Linked DNA regions of Homo sapiens: regions 2, 3, 4, 5 and 6 are each linked to region 1. Evidence: promoter capture Hi-C in human tissues and cell types (Jung and others, 2019). All regions are on one chromosome and are shown on one strand. Each heading gives the region's core, a stretch centred on a gene start or on the middle of the fragment in contact. The rest is flanking DNA. Distances are from core to core; before and after follow the strand shown.

The links. The method cuts DNA at HindIII sites, captures the fragments that hold promoters and counts their contacts. A contact is called where the count stands out against the background at its distance.
Region 2: a contact is called between a fragment that was not itself captured here and the fragment with the promoter of SIX6 in region 1, in 3 of the 25 tissues and cell types used here (H1 embryonic stem cells, IMR-90 fibroblasts and bladder).
Region 3: a fragment that was not itself captured here is called in contact with the fragment with the promoter of SIX6 in region 1 in 2 of the 25 tissues and cell types used here (mesendoderm cells and thymus).
Region 4: a fragment that was not itself captured here is called in contact with the fragment with the promoter of SIX6 in region 1 in 1 of the 25 tissues and cell types used here (mesendoderm cells).
Region 5: a fragment that was not itself captured here is called in contact with the fragment with the promoter of SIX6 in region 1 in 1 of the 25 tissues and cell types used here (thymus).
Region 6: a fragment that was not itself captured here is called in contact with the fragment with the promoter of SIX6 in region 1 in 2 of the 25 tissues and cell types used here (bladder and liver).

Annotation. Positions count from the first base shown.
Region 1 is chr14:60,507,551-60,511,006 of GRCh38, reverse strand. It overlaps SIX6 (SIX homeobox 6), which reads right to left and starts at 1,861. Exons shown (of 2, transcript NM_007374.3): 1 at 1,037-1,861. The coding sequence starts at 1,608. It also overlaps a transcript of C14orf39 not described here. The HindIII fragment of the contact is 5,424 bases long and covers 1-3,456 here.
Region 2 is chr14:60,256,861-60,260,316 of GRCh38, reverse strand. The region is part of intron 1 of PPM1A (protein phosphatase, Mg2+/Mn2+ dependent 1A); the gene reads right to left. Among named protein-coding and RNA genes, the nearest start is that of PPM1A, 9.4 kb to the right of the region's middle. The HindIII fragment of the contact is 8,153 bases long and covers 1-3,456 here.
Region 3 is chr14:60,279,959-60,283,414 of GRCh38, reverse strand. PPM1A (protein phosphatase, Mg2+/Mn2+ dependent 1A) reads right to left here. Exons shown (of 6, transcript NM_021003.5): 2 at 1-731. The coding sequence starts at 711. Among named protein-coding and RNA genes, the nearest start is that of PPM1A, 32 kb to the right of the region's middle. RefSeq lists an enhancer at 1-1,134. The HindIII fragment of the contact is 7,012 bases long and covers 1-3,456 here.
Region 4 is chr14:60,324,179-60,327,634 of GRCh38, reverse strand. No RefSeq gene overlaps it. Among named protein-coding and RNA genes, the nearest start is that of LINC02322, 2.7 kb to the right of the region's middle. The HindIII fragment of the contact is 3,430 bases long and covers 9-3,438 here.
Region 5 is chr14:60,341,425-60,344,880 of GRCh38, reverse strand. No RefSeq gene overlaps it. Among named protein-coding and RNA genes, the nearest start is that of LINC02322, 20 kb to the right of the region's middle. The HindIII fragment of the contact is 4,956 bases long and covers 1-3,456 here.
Region 6 is chr14:60,367,113-60,370,568 of GRCh38, reverse strand. No RefSeq gene overlaps it. Among named protein-coding and RNA genes, the nearest start is that of LINC02322, 46 kb to the right of the region's middle. The HindIII fragment of the contact is 7,405 bases long and covers 1-3,456 here.

The sequences.
Region 1 (3,456 bases), core at 612-3,111:
CCTCCAGCCCGGCGGCTAGAGGTTCTTCCGAAGACCCCAGCAGTTAAGGCGAGGATTACTCGGCAAGGCGACAGAGGTCGGGCAGGAGTCCGCGGCCGCCCCTCCGCGGGTCCCTACTGTTGTGCCCCACCATGATTCGCGCCCTTTCTCAGCGCCGCAGCTCCCAGGTCTTTTATATACTGGGCTTGCAGTGTCCTCCCTGTTTGTTGTGCACTTTTGGGAGATTTACAGGACTGTCAGGAAATAAACGAAGTGTGGGTGACAAGGACAGATCGGTCCCAGGGACATGGGATACCATTTCTAACGGTGCGTCTGCCTGGGGCTTACGCCTGAGCAAGTGCTCCCGCGATCGCGTTGGATCGGGTCGGCCCGACCTAAAGGCAAAAAGGATTGTAAGGAGCATTTGGGCCTGGGGGATGAGGCCGGGCTCTTCCGCAAAATGTTTGGCTAATCGAGATCCACACTCCGGGAAACGAAAAGCCTCGGCCCACGGACTAGTTTGCTGTTTTGAGACAAGAGTGGCAGGCAGCGCATGGGAAGAGGAAAACTCGACTTCCCATTTCTCAAAAGTCCATTGAAAACTGTTTTCAAAGCATTAGGGAGGGATATACCTGGGCTTTGAAAATGATAATTAACATGAAACCGACACATTGCTAATAAGCCAGGCTTCGATTAATAGTAGGAGCCTGTGCCCAGGCTGACAAGAATTAGCTTTGGGTCTTGGGGTCCCTAACTGTTTGTAGGATTTTAATTTTTTATTTCTCTTCCCCTCTCCGTCCCAGTGAAGCCTTGGTTTGGTGACCGGGACCAGCTGCTGCAGCTGCCCGCAGGCGTGGGGAGCCAGCGGGTGGGGAAGCAGAGCCGGCAAGGGAACTCCCGGCCAGGAGCCCAGAACGCAGGGCTCTTAACCCAAGACAGACCGCGCTCCCAACTCCTGCTGAATTGGAGTCGCCAGGGACTGGGTAAGGGCGCCAGAGGTGCCTCCACCCGCCTCCTCCCCGGTGCGCTCAAAGCGCGGAGGCCTCTAGGTACCGACCTGTTCTTGGCTGCAGCCGCTCGGTCCCTTTGTCGGCGGTTTTTGAACCAGTTGCCCACCTGCGTAGGGGTCAGTCCGGTTGCCTGGGCGAGCTCACGTTTTTTGCTGGGGTTAGGGTATGGATCCTGCAGGTACCACTCGCGTAGCAGGTGCCGCGTGCGCTCCTTGAAGCAGTGTGTCTTCTGTTCGCCGTCCCAAATGGTGCGCGGCAGCGGGAACTTCTTCCTTACTCGGTACTTGTCCACAGGTCCCAGGGGTCTTCCACGCAGCTTCTCAGCCTCCTGGTAGTGTGCTTCAAGCCACAGCGCCTGCAGCTTGGCGTGCGACTCCTTGGTGAACTTGTGGTTTTCCAGGATATGATAGAGCTCGCGGTAGTTGCCACCGTGAAAGGCCACGATGGCTCGTGCGCGTAGCACCGACTCATTCTTGTTGAGGGCCTCGCAGGCCGCAGGGGCCACGGGCAGCGACCAGAGGAAGCGACCCAGGCGCTCCACATCGCCGCTCTCTTCCAGGGTCTCACATACCCCGGCCACTTGCTGGGGGCTGAAATTCAAGATGGGCAGCTGGAACATCGAGGCAGTGCCGGCGGCGGCGAGGGCACTGAGCCCGGAGCGGGACACGCAGCAGATGCCCGCGGGCCTGGCTGAGTGTGCCAGGCGCTTGTTGATGAGGCGGATTGGGGCAGCGGGACACACTACCGGGTGGCGGCGGTGGCTCAACGGCCGGGAGCGGACGACCCCGACTGGAGGAGGTGCTGGCTCCGCGGCTTGGGGTTCGGGCTCGGCTCGGCTCAGGCACGCCGGCAGGCGAGCTGGCTCCGCTATTGGGGTGGGCGGATTGGCGGCGCGGGCGCCATGGAGACCCCCTGTCAGTCACCGGGTGGCTCTGCCAATCAAAGCTTGAATCAGCACGCCAGGACTATTTCAGCACCTCCCCGTGCTCGACAGCGCCCGCCGTTAGCTCCTGGACTTTTCTTCAGTATTTTGCAGAACCTGGAGGTTGAAAAGACATGCGAGTGTCTGGGAGAAAAAGAGAGGCGAGTGCGGCAGCGTTCACTACTCCTCCCTCCCCCACCCCGCTCTACCCCTCCCTCCCTTTTTCCCACCAAATAGGCAGTGATGCCACAGGAATTCAGGAATTCACTTTGGGGCGATGCGTTGTCTCGGTCGAGAGGTCTCCAGAGGACAAAGAGGACTGGGCCAAACTGAAATGCTCCGAGAATTCGCAAGTTTAGTTGTAACGAAACAGCAAACCTTGCGGTGGGAGCAGGAAGCCGGTGGGGGGAAGCGATCTTCTCATTTTTCCCAAGTACCCATCTCTGCATGCCTCCCTCTTCCCCTTTCCAGTTGCCAAAGCAGCTGAGTGGGAAGCAAATCTGGAGCAGCAGGAACAGGACCAGGGATCTGTAGAAGAGGTCAGTTTGAACTCTAGCCTTACTCCCTTCAAAGCCCACTAAAATAATTTTAAATGCCAACAAGGACATGTTCACGTCTGATAACGCAGATGCAGACCACGAAGTCAGACACTTTAAGAAAAGAAGGGTGGGCTGTAGGGACCTCCAAATAAAGGGGGAGAAATATACTTTCTCCCCCTCCCCCAGTTTAATGGACTTGAACAAAGTGCAGCATAGCCACATCTAGAGCCGAGAAGTCATTGGTAGGTCAGGACAGCAACTTAAAAGCTTATTTCCTAGATCTTTTTTAAAATATCGACTTAACTCCTTTCCTTGTAGGCTTATTTTGCCCCTACCTTGTGTTAGAACTTATACCTCTTGAGCTGGGGATAACAACTCTAACCTTGGCATTTTAGCTCAAAAACAATTCAGTAAAAATACAATACAGAAGGGCATCCACGACAATGCGGGGGCCCAGAAAGCACTTCCTAAGCCGCTGATTATTGACCCCTCCTGTAGTGAGGAAGGAGTGGCTTGGTGGCTCTGACTTTGGGCTAGTGGAGTGAATTGGCAACTTTTATTGATTCCCAATTGGCAGTCCACATCATACCATTTTCTGAGGCCTGGGTCAAAGAAACCATGATCTCATCTGGGCCTGTGGTAGGGGTTTGTTTAGTTTGAAGAAAATAACTGGTAGGGGGCTGTATAACAAAAACGCCAGGAAAACCGTTTTGGGGAGGTCCATCCCTAGACAGAAATCAGGTGAGAACGTTCACAGCCGAACTGGACTGGACCCGACTGTCTTTTCTTTAGTATCAAGTACAATTTGTATGCGGCTTGTACAGATCTGGTAAATCAGAAGGCAGATAGATAGCACAGATGGTTGGAGGTGTCGGGTCAGATCACGCCACGCCTGAGTGCAGGGCAAAGCTCGTTCTGACGGAAAACCCTGATATTATTTTCACAGATCTTCACAGTTCACTCGAAAAAAATAGCAGAGGGGAAGAAAAAAGCCCTGAAACCATTT
Region 2 (3,456 bases), core at 597-3,096, 250 kb after region 1:
AGTTAAATATTTACTTACCCTCCTCCAACAATAAACTTTACCCAAATGAATTATAATGCAACTGAACTGTTATTGAGTTCAATGTGCCCCAAATTAAGACAATACAAAATTTCAAAAAGCAAACCAAAATCAACCAATTGAACCAACTAAAGTAAGTCGGGTAAAGCTCTTCTACGCTAAAGACCATTTTTTTTACCCCAAAATTTTTAAAAAATAATTAGTCTTTGCTAAATTAAAAGTACTCAAACCATAGTTTGCACAGATAATGGCAGCAGTTTCAATCTCACAAAGTGCAAGTGAACACACCTTGCCACTTTTGATGTTCTTCATAGGTTTCCTGATTTTTTATGTAATGTATCAACATCTTCTAGTTGTGCTGTGATCTGAAGTACATAATCCATAAGTCGTTTTCTTAAATTTCTATAAAGGCATGTATTACACAATTTTTAAAAGTAAACTTTGTAAGTATATAATTGCTAGAAAAACATCTAAGCTAAATTTAGTTGGAGAGCTCTAGTGACTATAAAAATTAGATACTGACCTATTTTCACTACAATTATAGTACAAGCAAAATACTAAAAAGACATGGCATAGAACTATTTAGTTTATAAAGTTTTCTAATAATCTTTTAGCATTTACAATCTCAATTTGCCTCATCTGTTAACTAATTCAGATTTATCAGTTTTGGATAACTTGTCTTATCCAAGTTATCTATAGACAGATCTATAGACAGAAAGTGTCTTATCCAAGTTATCCAAAACTGAAGTGGATTAAATTCCTAGTTTGCTACTTATAAATCGCCGCATATTTGAGGATTTGGACTCAAACTAACCCAGAAAACAATAACTGACTTCCTGATCCAATCCATCCTTTTTTCTCTTCCTTAAAACTAATAAACAAAACACCTCACATAGAGCATCTACAAATGTTTGCTGATAACCTTGTATACTTAAGTTGAAAGAAAGGAAAAATATAACTTATTAAACATTTAAGATGGTAAAAGATTCATTTATATATAAATACATGGGGATTCTAAATATTTTACACATATGAAATGTCCCTGCTGAAAAAAATGACCAAAAGCATTTGCCTCTAACAGACTTCAGTTGATATAATCTAACATTTTTCAAAATAGAGTCACTCACTGAGTTCATGAATTGTGACATGCAATTTTTTTGTGTATGTAGGGAGATAGATGCTGAGGAAAGAGAGAAAAAAACCTTTTCAAGTGAAAGTTCTATTTAATAGCTTAAAAAATGTGTAACCACCTACCTCCTATACTTGAATAGCCACACCTCAAATCGCATGGCCCAAAATGAACTTCTCAACTACTGCCACTTCTTAGTTCCACATCTGAGGAAACAGATCTATCCTTAGTCATAAGCTCATAGAATCCTCTATTTCCCTTATCGCAGCATTTATCTGGTGAATTATCTCTCACTTTAGATTTTAAGATCCAGGAGGAAAGAGATTATGTCTTTTTTGTTCATATTTAACACATGACACTTGACGAATACATGAGACAGATGAATAACAGCCATTATACCTTGGCTTCTCCCTTGTCAACACTGATTATCTTCTATGCAGGAAAAAGTATTTTCAGAGAAGTTGGCCGGCCAACAAACTGTATCCTACCATTTTCCATCTATAGAATACATGGTTGTCTTTTATCCCTACAAAAATATCATAGTGGATTTCTAAAAAGAAAATATTGGACCCTAAAAGAAATCTACGGCTTAATCAAAACTTGATTTTCAGATTACTGTTCATCAATGACTTTAAAAAGTTTATCAACATCATTAGATACACACTCCCATTATTGAAAAATGGCACATAAGGAAGGGAACAAAAGAGAAAAAACATAGTTATGACTAAAAGCCCACACATTTTCTTTCCCTGAGCTATTTATTTATTAATCTGCTCATTCATTCAACATTCATGGATGGATGAACTTTTTCTAAAGTTTTCTCTACACAATAAGCCAAGTATAAAGTAATTCAGACACAAACGAATTTCTGGGAGCTGGGAAATCCATTGTCAATGCATTCAATGTAGTCTAGCCAAAAATATCTCTAACTTAATCTTGGAGTTTTACTACATAAAACAAGTAATACTATTTACACTTATAGAGCTACTTATTTTACTGACTGTAGCAAACCAGAAAAGATCACACTAGATGGCTGACTAGTTGAAACACCTGCTTACTGTATCAAGAAGCATTTACGCAGAAAGAGAAAATGAAGATGACAGATATGGACTAACAAAGGGTAAGCTGTGGGTTGGTCACAAAACAAAAACTGCCACTTCTAAGATTGGCCCCTTGGCAACCAAAACAGTCTTACAGGCTGTCAGAAAGGATAATACCCTACTGCTTTACAAAAAGTGAAAATTTTATTTCCTATCTACTTAACATTCTGAGGTATGATGGCATACTGCAAAGATGTTTTTCTAAAGCCTGGTAAGTTATGAGATTCTGTTTGGAAAAACAAAAACAAAAAAATATATAGCCATCCCTTATCTTTTATCATTCACATTTTCATTTCTGAATTTTGGTAATAAAGGTAAGCACACTTCATCTTTATACACACAGTACCAAATTATGATGTGATCCTACTAGTCATGATAAAGAAAAAGGTAGTACTAAGAATCCAAGACATTCAAAGTTGGTAATGAATTATATTCTTATTCTTTAAAACAGTACAATAGACAATTCTTGAATAACATATTCTTTAAAATAATTAAGCCACCTAAAGTATAACTAAAAAAAGAATGTTTACTTACATCCCTCCCTGAGGTGGTCATATTATAGATGAATACAAAACACCAGCCTAAATTTAAAGTGATTATACATGACCCATGCTTTCTCATAGTCTGCTGTATTTCCAGCTCACATTCAATTTTCTGTCATGTGTTCATCAGAAAATGAACAGGGAGACTATAAAAATTTAACAGTCATATATTGATAATCTCTTTAAATGAATGAAACAAGACCTGTTTTTAAGGAATTTATTTTCAATAAACATTGAAGTTACCATTTATAGTATAATCTCTATTGTAAACTCAGCTAGCTTGTGTTTAAGACTATCTTCTCAGACTCACTGAGAATTTCATTTGAATAAAGGATCTGTGAAATAATTTATATCAGTGGGTTGCAAAGTAGTAAACATGAATAAAATTTTAAGCCATAAGAAAAAAGTGTGTATGGCTTGTGGAACTAATTGTATTATGGCCATATCTTATGCTTTTTTAATATTAAAAAATGTAATAGCTCTTCTTGGGGAAAATTTCTAAAGGGAGCTAACATATGATAATATACTTTTCAAACTTAGTATACACTGCCACCTCAAATCCCAACTCAATCACAAGATTCACTCTCTGGATACAATGGAACAACAGTCATACCCTTCATGTACAAAGATTTTGACCCATCACAATGGCCAAGAGACTTACTTTCCG
Region 3 (3,456 bases), core at 461-2,960, 230 kb after region 1:
TGCAAGGATAATGAACTGATCATCTTCTTCAGATCTTTCAATATCATGGACTTCAGGCTCTGGTGAGACAAGCTGCTCAGTAGGACCTTTTCCATGGACACATTTGTAATCAAAATCCCCAAGGGCCCTCGATACAGCCAGAGAGCCATTCACACGCTGAATCATTACAGAGCCACCTGCATTCTGAATTCGTTCTTTCTCCAGCGGATTACTTGGTTTGTGATCTTGTGTGAAGAAATGAACTTTCCTGTTCCTACAAAGTAAACCTCTTGAGTCTCCACAGTTAATGAAATAAGTATGTTGGGGAGAAATTAAGACACCTACAGCTGTTGACCCACTTCTATCTGCACCATGTTTCTTCTCTGACATAACTCTCATGTGTTCATCAATCTCCAGAAAACCTGTTCTGATTCCATTCTTTACATTTTCCACAGAAGGTGCTCCTGCAGACCCTTTAAAATCCTGGTTATTGGTGATGTGATCTAACAAATGCTCACAGCAGTATTTGGCAACCTGAGAACCAGCATGCCCATCATACACAGCAAAGAATGACCACGATTCAAGTCCACTTGGCAAACCGATCACAGCCGTATGTGCATCCTCCATTTCAACACGCCAGCCTTGCATGCTGCTTAGCCCATATCGCAACCCATTACCCTGCCCCTGGGCATTATGCTTTTCCATCTTTGGCTTGTCTAAAAATGCTCCCATTATGTCTTGATCCTCTAGGTCTGCAAAGGAAGAGAAACAGGAAAGTCAATAACTGTCTTATAAACAAAATATGTACCAAACAATCTTTTTAATAAGTGAAAGAGATATGCGGGAATTCACAACTCGCGATAAGCAGACATTCATTGTGTTGCTGACTTGGAATCTGGAGATTAACAAGGAGGAACTGGGGGAAAGCCTGATGAAGCACAGATCACAACAGACAAAAAGGCAGAAAAAAACTAAAGCATTGGGATAAAGGGGAGAAGGCAGAAAGGAGACCTGGCAGTGGCCATCAACTTAAACCAACCAGGCTAAATGTTTAATGATACAATGAACATGTGTAAGCTCAGGACTAAGTTGTATGTATATCAATTAAGAAAAGCCAAACGAATTCATGACATACCCAAAAAATCTACTAACTCAAATATATCTTGGTTGAACATTCAGGAATTTTCAAGCTTGATTCCAAACTCCCTAGTTTTATTCCCACTGCATGAACTCTGAAAAACTAAAAAATAATCTACTCACAATGCTCCAAATTTGCATGCTCCTTCAAGCCTTTGCTCATGTCAGTTTCCTTAACTGGAAACTCTTGCCTCATCCTATTTATAGAAAAAAGTATACCTATCCTTTTAAGTCTACCTTACATTCTACCTTTTCCATGAGGTTTTTCAGTTTTTGATAAAGTCAGTTAAGTTATTAAATTACTGTAAATGTTGTAGCCTCAAATTTCAAGTTGCAAGCAATTATATATATACATAACGAAGTGTACTGTATACATATATAACAAAATTACTACTAGTAATCTATTAATCATATAGTAATAACATGTACCATTATTATTATACTCTATGACCATTAGGTATATAAAGAAGATCAAAGGGTCTAGTGACAGCCCTGCTGACAAGCCTGAAGGCTCAGCTAATCTAATCCTTTTCCAATACTCAAAAGTTAACACCCGCTGGTCTAGAATGGGCCCACACAAGGCAAAGAGACAGCTGGTTAGAATTTACCTTGGCCCTTACTTGAACAATAGCTTAGAAATGTAGACACCTGGGTTCAAGTAATCAAGTAAGTCACAACTGAACTAAAGGCAATCCAAAAGAAGGATAGCATGATGAACAGAGATTTAATGGAGGTGAAGAGGAGTTAGGTAGTAGGGAATAATGGTGGAGAAAAGTATCTAGGTAAATCACTACGCAGCTCTGAAACTAGGGTATTGATGATGCTAATGATACTCAGCTCAGAGAGGAAACTGGGAGAAAAAGGGCAAGAAGAAAATCCTCCTAGGAAGGAAAGAAAAACATTTGTTTTCCCCTTCATTTTCCTTATAGGTCCAAACTGATACATAGGCAGAAAAGACTGGCTGATTGGCGTGATAAAACCATCTGCCTACTCCTCTGCCTCCTAGTACAGTTCAACTAACGAAAGGTAAGTAATGAAAACTAGCTATCATCCATCCCTTATGGTGATATTTATCAGATTATTTTTCTGACATCAAGTTGATACACACTGCAAAGGTGAGTATTTTGATTGGATAAAGGATAACGTAATAATGACACCTTATTAGCAGGCAATGTTTAAGAAGTATTCTAAGTCCCTCTGGTAAGTGTTTTACAAGCATTACTTCATTTAATCTCTTCAACAACTCTCTAAGGTAGATAATAATATTATCTCCAATTTATAGATGAAGAACCTTAGCCAAGATTAAAGAACTTGGCCAAGATCACTCAACTAATAAGTTTAAAGGAATCAGGGCTCTGATTCAAGTCTGCGTGACTCTAAAGCATCATTAACCCCTAAGAAAATGGGTCTCTACCATGGCTGTGCAACAGAATTATCTGTGGACTTTTTGAAAAATAAATATTTCCAAATCAGAATTTCCAGGGTAGGGTTGGAACCTAGGTATCTATGATTTTTAAATTTTCATATGTGATTCTGAGGCACAGTAAGGTTGCAAACTGCTGGAAAAGATTAGATGGAATGCCTAAGGCAGAAGATGGGGGCACATTAAGGGCCAACAAGAAATAATCAACCAAAATTGCAGTAACCAAGACCACTATCCTAGGTTACAAGACCACTATCCTAGACTAGAAACAACAAGGTGAAGTTTTACAGAGGAAAGACTCCACTACCTTGAGAAAAGGAAAGAAAAAAAGAGACGTGAGTGAAACTCAAAAAATTAAACACATTTAAGAGACAAACCAACAGAAAAGAATAGTAATGACAAACTTCCTTCCTCTACGAATTCACCAATAGCATGAAGTACTAAAGAAAATAAGTTATGAAATTAGACCAATGTGGGTTTAAATTCTGGCTCTACTACTTAGTAATAGTGTGACTACTGAACCTTTCCGAATCTCTTTCTCCATCTGTTCCTGTATAAGCATATAAGAAGGCAGCCAGGTGTGGTGGCTCACGCCTGTAATCCCAGCACTTTAGGAGGCCGAGGTGGGTGGATCATGAGGTCAGGAGTTCTAGACCAGCCTGGCCAATATGGTGAAACCCCGTCTCTACTAAAAATACAAAAATTAGCCAGGCATGGTGGCGCATGCCCGTAATCCCGGCTACTTGGGAGGCTGAGGCAGAAGAATGGCTTGAACCTGGAGGCAGAGGTTGCACTGAGCCAAGCTGAGATCACATCACTGCACTCCAGCCTGGGCGATAGAGCGAGACTCCGTCTCAAAAAAAAAAGTATATAAGAAGGCACTAACCTTACAAGATTCTTATGACGATTAAATAAAA
Region 4 (3,456 bases), core at 474-2,973, 180 kb after region 1:
TGGGCTTGGGCCCCGGGCAGGTGCTTACAGGAAAAGGCGGAGACAGCGCCTCCCTCCATGGGTGCAGCGAGGAGAAAAATCCGTGGTGTGTGACCATTTTAATGCATCGCATTTCAGTTCTGCAAATGCAAAGTGTAAATTAGGCTAGAACATGATTGTGAATCAGACCAGACGTCATGATTAATTTATCACTGTGCTCCAGATACATCAGCTAAAATAATATGAATTTAAAGTAACGGTTCCTCCCGCCTTTGTGTTTGCTGGTGAACTCTAAAGAATAGATCACTAGAGAAATAAAGGAACTTAAGAGTCCACTCTATTCTCGTATTAGCGGAGCATGAACATAATTAAACATTCTCAATAAGGTTTCTTCCACCGTTTGAAATTAAATTTGCCCACCCACATTTTGTATCCGTCTGTGTAACACTCACTGATGCACCCTGAGCTGCTGATAAACATTGAGGCGGAGATTAGCTTTTTCATATTTCAGGTAACATTTATGATGCCTCAAGTTCTGGTTCCCAAACTGGCTGATTATCAAAATTGTCTAGGGCCTTGCCACTAAAAGTGTGGTCCATGAAGTAGCGGCACGGTATCACTTTTGAGATCGTTAGGAATGCAGAATCTCAGGCCCTACTCAGACCTGTTGATGGGAGTCTAAATTTTTTACAAGACCTGCCCTCACCACATCACCACCCCCATTAAAGTTTGAGAAGAATTGATGTAGTTTTTTAAAAACCACAAATACCTTTGCTCAGACATCTATATATGTTTAGTAAGCAGCCGAGTTGATTCTTATAAGTTGAGTTGTCAAGTTTGGAGGTCACTGGTCTTTGAGGCTCAAGGTTCAGATGACTTTTATGCTGATGACATGAACCAAATTTATTAAATCAGTGGAACTCTCTCTGAAAGTTTGGTACAGGTGAGTTTATCTGTTTAGTCATCCATGAATTACAAGAAAGCTTATTAATTATTTAGTTAAATAATGACACATTTAGTCCTCCAATTAGGAAAGCTCAACACTAGGAAGGAGGATTTTCTCCTTATGTAACTGGCTCATTCACTCCCAGACTGAGTGTAGGCATGAGGAAATCTTTTGCTTGGCCATCAAAGCCGCCCCCACCCCCTTCGAATGTTCTGACTTTCTTTATAACAGTACCTTTCATTCAGAAGAATACAAACATCCCTTGTGCTGCTGTTCAGTGATGTTGAGGGCTGTACTGGAGGACTGTGTCTAGTTCTGGACCTCACAATAAAAGAGGGATGTGGGGACCTTGGCAAAGGTTCAGAAGATATTTGTAAAGGTTATTTTTTAAATTCAGAATGAATCTTCACATTGTGTGGCATTATCTATAAAATGGACATGAAATGAACTTTGACTGTAGCTTGAGATTTTTACTTTAAGAGAAAAGCAATTGTAGAAATAAGTGGAGGAAGAAGAAAGAATGTCTCTTGAGCACAAGTTCTCACCTTGTGCATTAGTTACAATGACCTGGAGAAATTTTTTAAAACCCCAATGCCAGTTAAGTTGGGGGAGTCTTTGTGGTTGGGACCTGAGCATCAATAGTTTTTCAAGTACTCCAGGTGATTCCAATGCACAGCTCCTGAGCAGTGCTGCTGCAACTTTAATGTCATTGGCACCACCTGGGAAGTTTGTTAAAATGCAGATTGTGGCCGGTGCAGTGGCTCACACCTGTAATCCAAGCATTCTGGGAGGCCAAGATGGGCAGATCACTTGAGGCCAGGAGTCTGAGATCAGCCTGGACAACATGGCAAAAACCTGTCTCTACTAAAAATACAAAAAGTAGCTGGGTATGATGGTGCATGCCTATAATCCCAGCTACTTGGGAGGCTGAGACACCAGAATCACCTGAATTCAGGAGGTGGAAGTTGCAGTGAGCTGAGATTGTGCTACTGTACTCCAGCCTGAGAGAGCAAGACTGTGGGGCAAGAGATTCTGCAATTCTAAGAAGCATCTAAGTGAAGTCAAAGCCCTGGTTTTATGAACCAGGCTTTGAGTAGCAAAGGCTAGCGGGGTTTGAAAGTAAACTAAACTCTCTGCCAGGAAAAATCCATGATCTTATTTTCAGGCCATCTCAAAGTCTCCTATGGCTTTATGACACCTGTCAACATGCAAAAGAGATAACTCCAACCACCACATAAGCCAATGAAAAGAAAACCAAGCCAAGTGCGGGTGCAGTGGCTCATGCTTATAATCTCAGCACTTTGGGAGGCCAAAGTGGGAGGATTCTTGAGGACAGGCATTTGAGACCAGCCTGGGAATCATAGCAAGACCTCATGTCTTTAAAAAAAAAAAAAAAAAAAAGTTTAAATTAGCCAGGTGTGGTGGTGTGCACCTGTAGTCCCAGCTACTTGGGAGGCTGAGCCAGGAGGATCACTTGAGCCCAGCAGTTTGAGACTGCAGCTGCAGTGAGCTATGCACCACTGCGCTCCAGCCTGGGTAACAGAGTTAGATGCTGTCAAAAAAGAAAAGAAAAGAAGGAAAGGAAGGAAGGAAAGAAGGCAGGCAGGAAGGCAGGAAGAAAGAAAAAAGAAAGAAAGAAGGAAAGAAAGAATAAAAGAAAGAAAGAAAGGAAAAGAAAAGAAAAAAGAAAGAAAGGACAGAAAAGAAAAGAGACAGAAGAAAAGAAAAGAGAGAAAAGAAAAGAAAAAGAAAAAGCAAACCGGAAGCCAGGGTGAGGAACACTGCTTTGGATGAAAACATTTAACAATGAACAGTATCTCCTTGAATTGGAAAGTATTTATAGGAGAACTTAAAAGAGAGAACTTTTTCTGGACAACATTACCATCCCTATTCTCACAATTCCATTTCTTCAAGATAGCTTTAGTAGTAAACAGAGTTGTCATATGTGTAATGGGGCAGATGATCAAGTGCAGTGGCAGCTGGGGTGTAAGAGCTGCTATATCTATGCTAGTAACATTTGGTCCAAAGCTGAGCCAGCTCAGAACCTAGATGTTTCTCTGAATTCTGGAGATAGTGAGAACCAGCCACTTTGTCAAGAGATTCCATTCAGCTGTCAACATGATGGCACAAGTCGGTAAAGCAAAATTTAAAAATGTTTAAACTTGAAAATGTCCACAGTAATATTTATAGTTAGCCTAAATGAAAAGGCTTTACATGTACTATCTCATTTAATCCTTGCAATAATCTTATAGATAATTACTATTATTATCCCGATTTTACAAATAAGACAACAGAGCTCAGAGAAGGCAAGACACTTGCCCTACTTTGAAACTAAACTAGAAACTAGTGTTTCTAGAAACACTTTCTAGAAACTAGAAAGTGGCAGAGCCAGGATTGGAACCCATTCGTTTGATTCCAGAGTCCCCACATTAAGCTCAACAGTGTGATAACAAAGCTAGTTTGCCATTGGGGATTTTCTGTCAATATTCCTGCTGCTATAAGCAGTGTGTTCATGTTTTCCTTAGTGTTTG
Region 5 (3,456 bases), core at 613-3,112, 170 kb after region 1:
CATTTCACATCCCCCAAGTAGGCAAAAATTTTAAAGTATGACCAAACCAAGCATTGGCAAGAATATGGAAAAACAGAAACTCATGCACTGCTGGTGGGGTGTAAATTGTCACAACCACTTGGGAAAATGATTTGCCCTTATCAAAAAAGTTGAAGACATGCATGTCACACGACCTAGCCATTAGATATATATATATACACAAGGGGAAATGGTATATATGCACTAGGAAACACATAAAAGAATATTCACAGCAGCAACATTCATAATAGTAAAAAAACTAGGAAAAAAGCCCAAATGTTCAACCATATTAGTATAGATAAATTGCGATATAGTCACACAATGGAATATTATATAGTATTAAAAATGAATGAACTAAAATTACACACCACATAGATGAATGTCAGGAACACAATGTCACAGAAGAATATCTAAATCATCAGCAAGCATTAGGCCCACAGTTCTTTGCCTGGCACTCGAATCGTTCCATAATCCATAAAGCCTATTTAATCTGCCCAATCTCATATCCTTCCCCAAAGCACATTAAGTCATTGTGTCTACTAGGCACTGCTTTTTTCACGGTTCCTCTGGTATGCCATGATCTTTCCTCCTCCCTTGACTTCCTTTAGGTGATCTCCACATGTGGAGTAGACCCTCCTTTCCTTCTCACTCACCAAATCCACCCAGGTAATCAAAGCCTAACCGAGTTCCACGTCCACATAAGCCTTCTGTAACTGCCCATGGTCTCTGAACTTCTGAGTTTACTGTCAAGACCATGAAGTTTTGTGACTAATTGTTTTCTAGGTAAATTTAATTTAACAAGTATGTACTGAACTCCCATTATGTGAAAGGGCTAGTGTGAGGTGCTGCAAGAGGGCATTGAAATTAAACAGAAAATAGTCTCCACTCTCCGGTTCTAAAGTGTGATCTGTAAAAACCGGTTGGGGAATGAAGCAAAGCTGTATGGCTAAGATAGCTCTTGAGAAAGGTCTAAAGCAGCACAGTGGTTTGGGCATGGAATCCACAGATCTGGGTTTCAGTCCTGACTCCAACCCACACACCAGCAGCGTGACCTGGTGCAAATTTACTTTTCTCTGCTTTAGATTCCCATCTGTAAAATACATCGTGGTATTTCCCACTTCCTAGGTTGTGGTGGGGATTACACAAGATGATGCACTATGATGTGCTAAGGACAACACCTGACACAGAGTAAGCAGAGAAAAATCGTGGCTCTTAACAAGGAAGGTGGCTCGGATCTTCACAGATGGAGATGGGGGCAAGGTATTCAAGATTTAGAGAGGAGGCAGAGCTTGTAGCAGGGGAAGTTGCCTCCTGTTCACAGTCCACTTTGCTGTGGTACAGAGCTGAGACAAAAGGAGTCCAGGTAAGGGGGGTGGTTCAAGATATGTCGCACAGAAAGAGACTGGGTCTGAGAAGTGTATGCTTAATTCTGTGGGTAAGTGTATGGGGCAGGTTGACAAATAGAACCATGCTTGCCCCTAAGAAGGCCCTGAGAAGTGAGAAGAGCCGGGGAAACTGATTGAAATCATGTAAAATTTTACGGTTTGGGCTGTGGTACAAAAATAATAATGCCATTAATGGTCAAAACTTGTAAAAATATTAAGTTTACATTTTGCTTCTATGAAAGCATAAAAAAGAATAAAAATGGACACAGGCCTATTGGAAATCTGTAGCTTAAATATTCACTTAACTAAAACAACAAACTTTTTTTTATTATACTTCAAGTTTTAGGGTACATGTGCATAATGTGCAGGTTTGTTACATATGTATACATGTGCCATGTTGGTGTGCTGCACCCATCAACTCGTCATTTAACATTAGGTATATCTCCTAATGCTATCCCTCCCTGCTCCCCCCATCCCACAACAGGCCCCGGTGTGTGATGTTCCCCTTCCTGTGTCCATGTGTTCTCATTGTTCAGTTCCCACCTATGAGTGAGAACATGCGGTGTTTGGTTTTTTGTCCTTACGATAGTTTGCTGAGAATGATGGTTTCCAGCTTCATCCATGTCCCTACAAAGGACATGAACTCATTTTTTATGGCTGCATAGTATTCCATGGTGTATGTGTGCCACATTTTCTTAATCCAGTCTATCATTGTTGGACATTTGGCTTGGTTCCAAGTCTTTGCTATTGTGAATAGTGCCGCAATAAACATACGTGTGCATGTGTCTTTATAGCAGCATGATTTATAATCCTTTGGGTATATACCCAGTAATAGGATTGCTGGGTCAAATGGCATTTCTAGTCAAGAACCCTGAGGAATCGCCACACTGACTTCCACAATGGTTGAACTAGTTTACAGTCCCACCAACAGTGTAAAAGTGTTCCTAAATCTCCACATCCTCTCCAGCACCTGTTGTTTCCTGACTTTTTAATGATCGCCATTCTAACTGGTGTGAGATGGTATCTCATTGTGGTTTTGATTTGCATTTCTCTGATGGCCAGTGATGATGAGCATTTTTTCATGTGTCTGTTGGCTGCATAAATGTCTTCTTTTGAGAACTGTCTGTTCATATCCTTCACCCACTTTTTGATGGGGCTGTTTTTTTCTTGTACATTTGTTTGAGTTCATTGTAGATTCTGGATATTAGCCCTTTGTCAGATGAGTAGATTGCAAAAATTTTCTTCCATTCTGTAGGTTGCCTGTTTACACTGCTGGTAGTTTCTTTTGCTGTGCAAAAGCTCTTTAGTTTCATTAGATCCCAATTGTCAATTTTTGCTTTTGTTGCCATTGCTTTTGGTGTTTTAGACATGAAGTCCTTGCCCATGCCTATGTCCTGAATGGTATTGCCTAGGTTTTCTTCTAGGGTTTTTATGGTTTTAGGTCCAACATTTAAGTCTCTGATCCATCTTGAATTAATTTTTGTATAAGGTGTAAGGAAGGGATCCAGTTTCAGCTTTCTACCTATGGCTAGCCAGTTTTCCCAGCATCATTTATTAAATAGGGAATCCTTTCCCCATTGCTTGTTTTTGTCAGGTTTGTCAAAGATCAGATGGTTGTAGATATGCGGCATTATTTCTGAGGGCTCTGTTCTGTTCCATTGGTCTATATCTCTGTTTTGGTACCAGTACCATGCTGTTTTGGTTACTGTAGCCTTGTAGTATAGTTTGAAGTCAGGTAGTGTGATGCCTCCAGCTTTGTTCTTTTGGCTTAGGATTGACTTGGCAATGTGGGCTCTTTTTTGGTTCCATATGAACTTTAAAGTAGTTTTTTCCAATCCTGTGAAGAAAGTCATTGGTAGCTTGATGGGGATAGCATTGACTCTGTGAATTACTTTGGGCAGTATGGCCATTTTCATGATATTGATTCTTCCTATCCATGAGCATGGAATGTTCTTCCATTTGTTTGTGTCCTCCTTTATTTCATTGAGCAGTGGTTTGTAGTTCTCCTTGAAGAGGTCCTTCACATCCTTTGTAAGTTGGATCCCTAGGTGTT
Region 6 (3,456 bases), core at 505-3,004, 140 kb after region 1:
GGCCTCAAGAAACTTACAATCATGGTGGAAGGCAAAGCAGAAGCAGACACCTTACATGGCAGGAGCAAGACTCAGAGAGAATGAGGAGGTGCTACATACTTTTAAACAACCATATCTCATGATAACTCACTCACTCCTATCATGAGAACAGCACAGAGGGTATGGTGCTAAACCATTCATGAGAACTCCACCCCCATGATCCAATCACCTCCCACCAGGCCCCACCTCCAACACTAAGGATTATAATTCAACATGAAATTTGGGTGGGGACATAGATCCAAATGATATCATGTCCCATAAGTCCCCCAGGCACTCTTCACTCATCTTCATTCTTTTTTTCTTTTTGCTCCTCTGACTTGATGATTTCAGATGACCTGTCTTCCAGTTTGCTGATTCTTTTTTTTTTTTTTTTGCCTGATCAAGTCTGCTGTTGAACCTCTGTAGTAATTTTTTTAAGTTCAGTTGTATTTTTCAGTGCCAGAATTTGTTTGTTTCTTTTAAAAAATAGTTTCTATCTCTTTTTTTATATTCTCATTTTGTTCATGTGTTATTTTCTTTATTTCATTTAATTGTTGACATGTGTTTTCTTTTATCTCATTGAGAATCTTTATGATGGTTATTTAAAAATTTTTCAGTTGCAAGATCATGGCTCACTGCAGCCTCAGTCTCCCTGGGCTTTGGTGATCCTCCCACCTCTGCCTCCCGAATAGCTGGGGCCACAGGGGCACACCACCACACCAAGCTAACTTTTGTACTTTTTACAGAGATGAGTTTTCATCATGTTGCCCAAGCTAGTCTTGAACTCTTGGGCTCAAATGACACACCCACCTTGGCCTCGCAAAGTACTGCACCTGGTCTATTTAAAATTCTTTGTCAGGCAGCTCATAGTTCTGCATTTCTTTAAGATCAGTTTCTGAATTTTATTTTATTTTTCTTTCTATTGGGCCATGATTCTTGTTTCTTTGTATGCCTTATAATCTTTTGTTGAGATTTGGGTATTTGTAAAAGCAAACACCACTCCCAGTCTTTGTGCAGATGAACTTCAATCAGCCTAGCTAGAGATTCTAGAGCCTCTCAAACCTTCTCTGATTTCTTGCTTCCCTTGGCATCTGCCTGCAAAACTGCAGCTCTAATGTATGGCAGTGCTTATCTCTGTTTTGATTGGCCTCCAAATTATGCCTTTGATCCATCAAGCAAGACCAAAACTAGTCCCTCTGGTGGCTCCCATGCAACTTAGAACACTGGATGCATGATTCACTCCAGAAGGAGTAGCTTGAGTTTGAGGGGTTTCCTCCTGGTTGCATTGTGCTAAGCCACATGGAGAGGGGACATGGATGAGCAAGCAAAACATGTGAACTTTCTTATCGCCTTTCACTTGAATCCCTTCTTGGTTTTATATTGGCCTGTGTGTTATAGCATCTCAACTGGTCTCATAATTTCTCAGAGGTATTCTGGTTCACATATCGTTGTTAACTTGGTGTCTCTGTAGGGGAAGGAAGGCCTGGAGCTTCCTGGTTCATCATCTTACTGACACCACTTCCCAGTTTGACATTTCTTTTGTCTGTTTGTTTGTGACAGGGTCTCACTCTGTCACCCAGGGTGGAGTGCAGTGGCACCATCTTGGCTCACTGCAACCTCTGCCTCCCAGGTTCAAGCGATTCTCCTGCCTCAGCCTCCCAAGTAGCTGAGATTACAGGCGTGCACCACCACACCCAGCTAATTTTTGTATTTTTACTAGAAACAGGGTTTTGCCATGTTGGCCAGGCTGGTCTAGAACTCCTGACCTCAAGTGATCTGCCCACCTTGGCCTCCCAAAGTGTGATAATTCTTTTGAAAATATGACAATAAGAGATTTGATTTAAGTCTTTTGGTTGTTTAAAAAATACACAGTTTGAATAAACTACATGTTTCAAAATTTTACCAATAGTTTAAAAAATTTTGTAATGAATGGGTTCAAAACCTGCTTATGTGACCCTAGGATATTTCCTTAGTCTTAGTTTTCTCATAGGGTTTATGTGAACACTAATTGAGTTAATATACATAAGCACTTAGAACAGTATCTGATACATGATAAGCACATATAAATCTTGTATTTGTTCCAGAAACATTGTCAATTCTCCTTGCTCTCTGACAATGGCAGTTTTATTTATAGGTAAGAACAAATTCTGTGTAATGGAATCATAATAGGTTTTCGATGTATAATTTTCATCTATGTTGTAGAAGGTAATGCTTTTTAATTTTTGCAAATTCGTAGTTACTATTCTATCATTAATATCAGTCATCCTGCAGTTATTCAGTTCAACAAATACTTACTATGAGGTTACTATGTACTGGAATATATACTCTGCTCTTCAAGAGATTACAATCTAGTGAGGGAGAAGGATAGGCTTTAGACTCTTTGTATGTATATATGACTGAGTTCTTGAAACTCACATATCAGAACTGACTCCAACTACAGTTTGTAGGTCTTAGGGATCTTCCACTGAAGCAGACTATTTAGAATTTCTCCTCCCCAAATCTGCATCCTGTAGTACACCTCTTATTTCTTTATGTTAAGTTTGTTGGCAGAGCACAGTGCTCACACCTATAATCCCAGCACTTTGTGAGGCCGAGGTGGATGGATTACTTGAGGCCAGGATTTTGAGACCAGCCTGGCCAGAATTTGTTTGGCCAGAATATGGTCTGGCTAATATGGTGAAACCCCATTTCTACTAAAAAAAAAAAAAAGAAAAATACAAAAATTAGCTAGGCGTGGTGGCACGTGCCTGTAGTCCCAGCTAGTTGGGAGGCTAAGGCATGAGAATTGCTTGAACCTGGGAGGTGGAGGTTGCAGTGACCCAAGATTGCGCCACTGCACTCCAGCCTGGGTGAGAGTGAGACTGTCCAAAACAAAACAAACAAACAAACAAACAAAAATTTGTTGCACTCTTGGTGTGAAACTTTTGAGAAGATGTTCCTTTCAAGTATGCTCAGCCTTCTGAGGATTGTCAATTAATCAGAAATATTAATATATTGGTGTAAGTGCCATTTTCTACCAGTGCAACTCTGTAAGTGCAAGTCTCTGTAAATATGATCATTCACTTTTAGAGTTTAGTGTTTTCTGAGGAAACAGATATTAAAATATCCAAGAGCTTCTCCTAAAACCATCCTGATTCAACTTTTTTTAAAGTTAAGAGGAAGCACCAGCTCTTCTCTCCCTCATGGTGGATGGGGCAGTGTAGCAGTAGCAGTAGGAGATAGGCATATAGCTTGGGAAGGCATAAGATAGCAACTACTTTCTCCAAAAGAACACTCCCTAATAGCCTCTTCAACCCCTCAGTACTTTTTTATATAGCCAGAAGATGAGTAATAGCTGATGTTTTAGAAGTACACAATCTCTTAGCATTTCCTGAATAGGCATCACACCAACTGACTTTAGACTGTAGGAGTATTTGGTACCTCTTATATTGAGGTTAG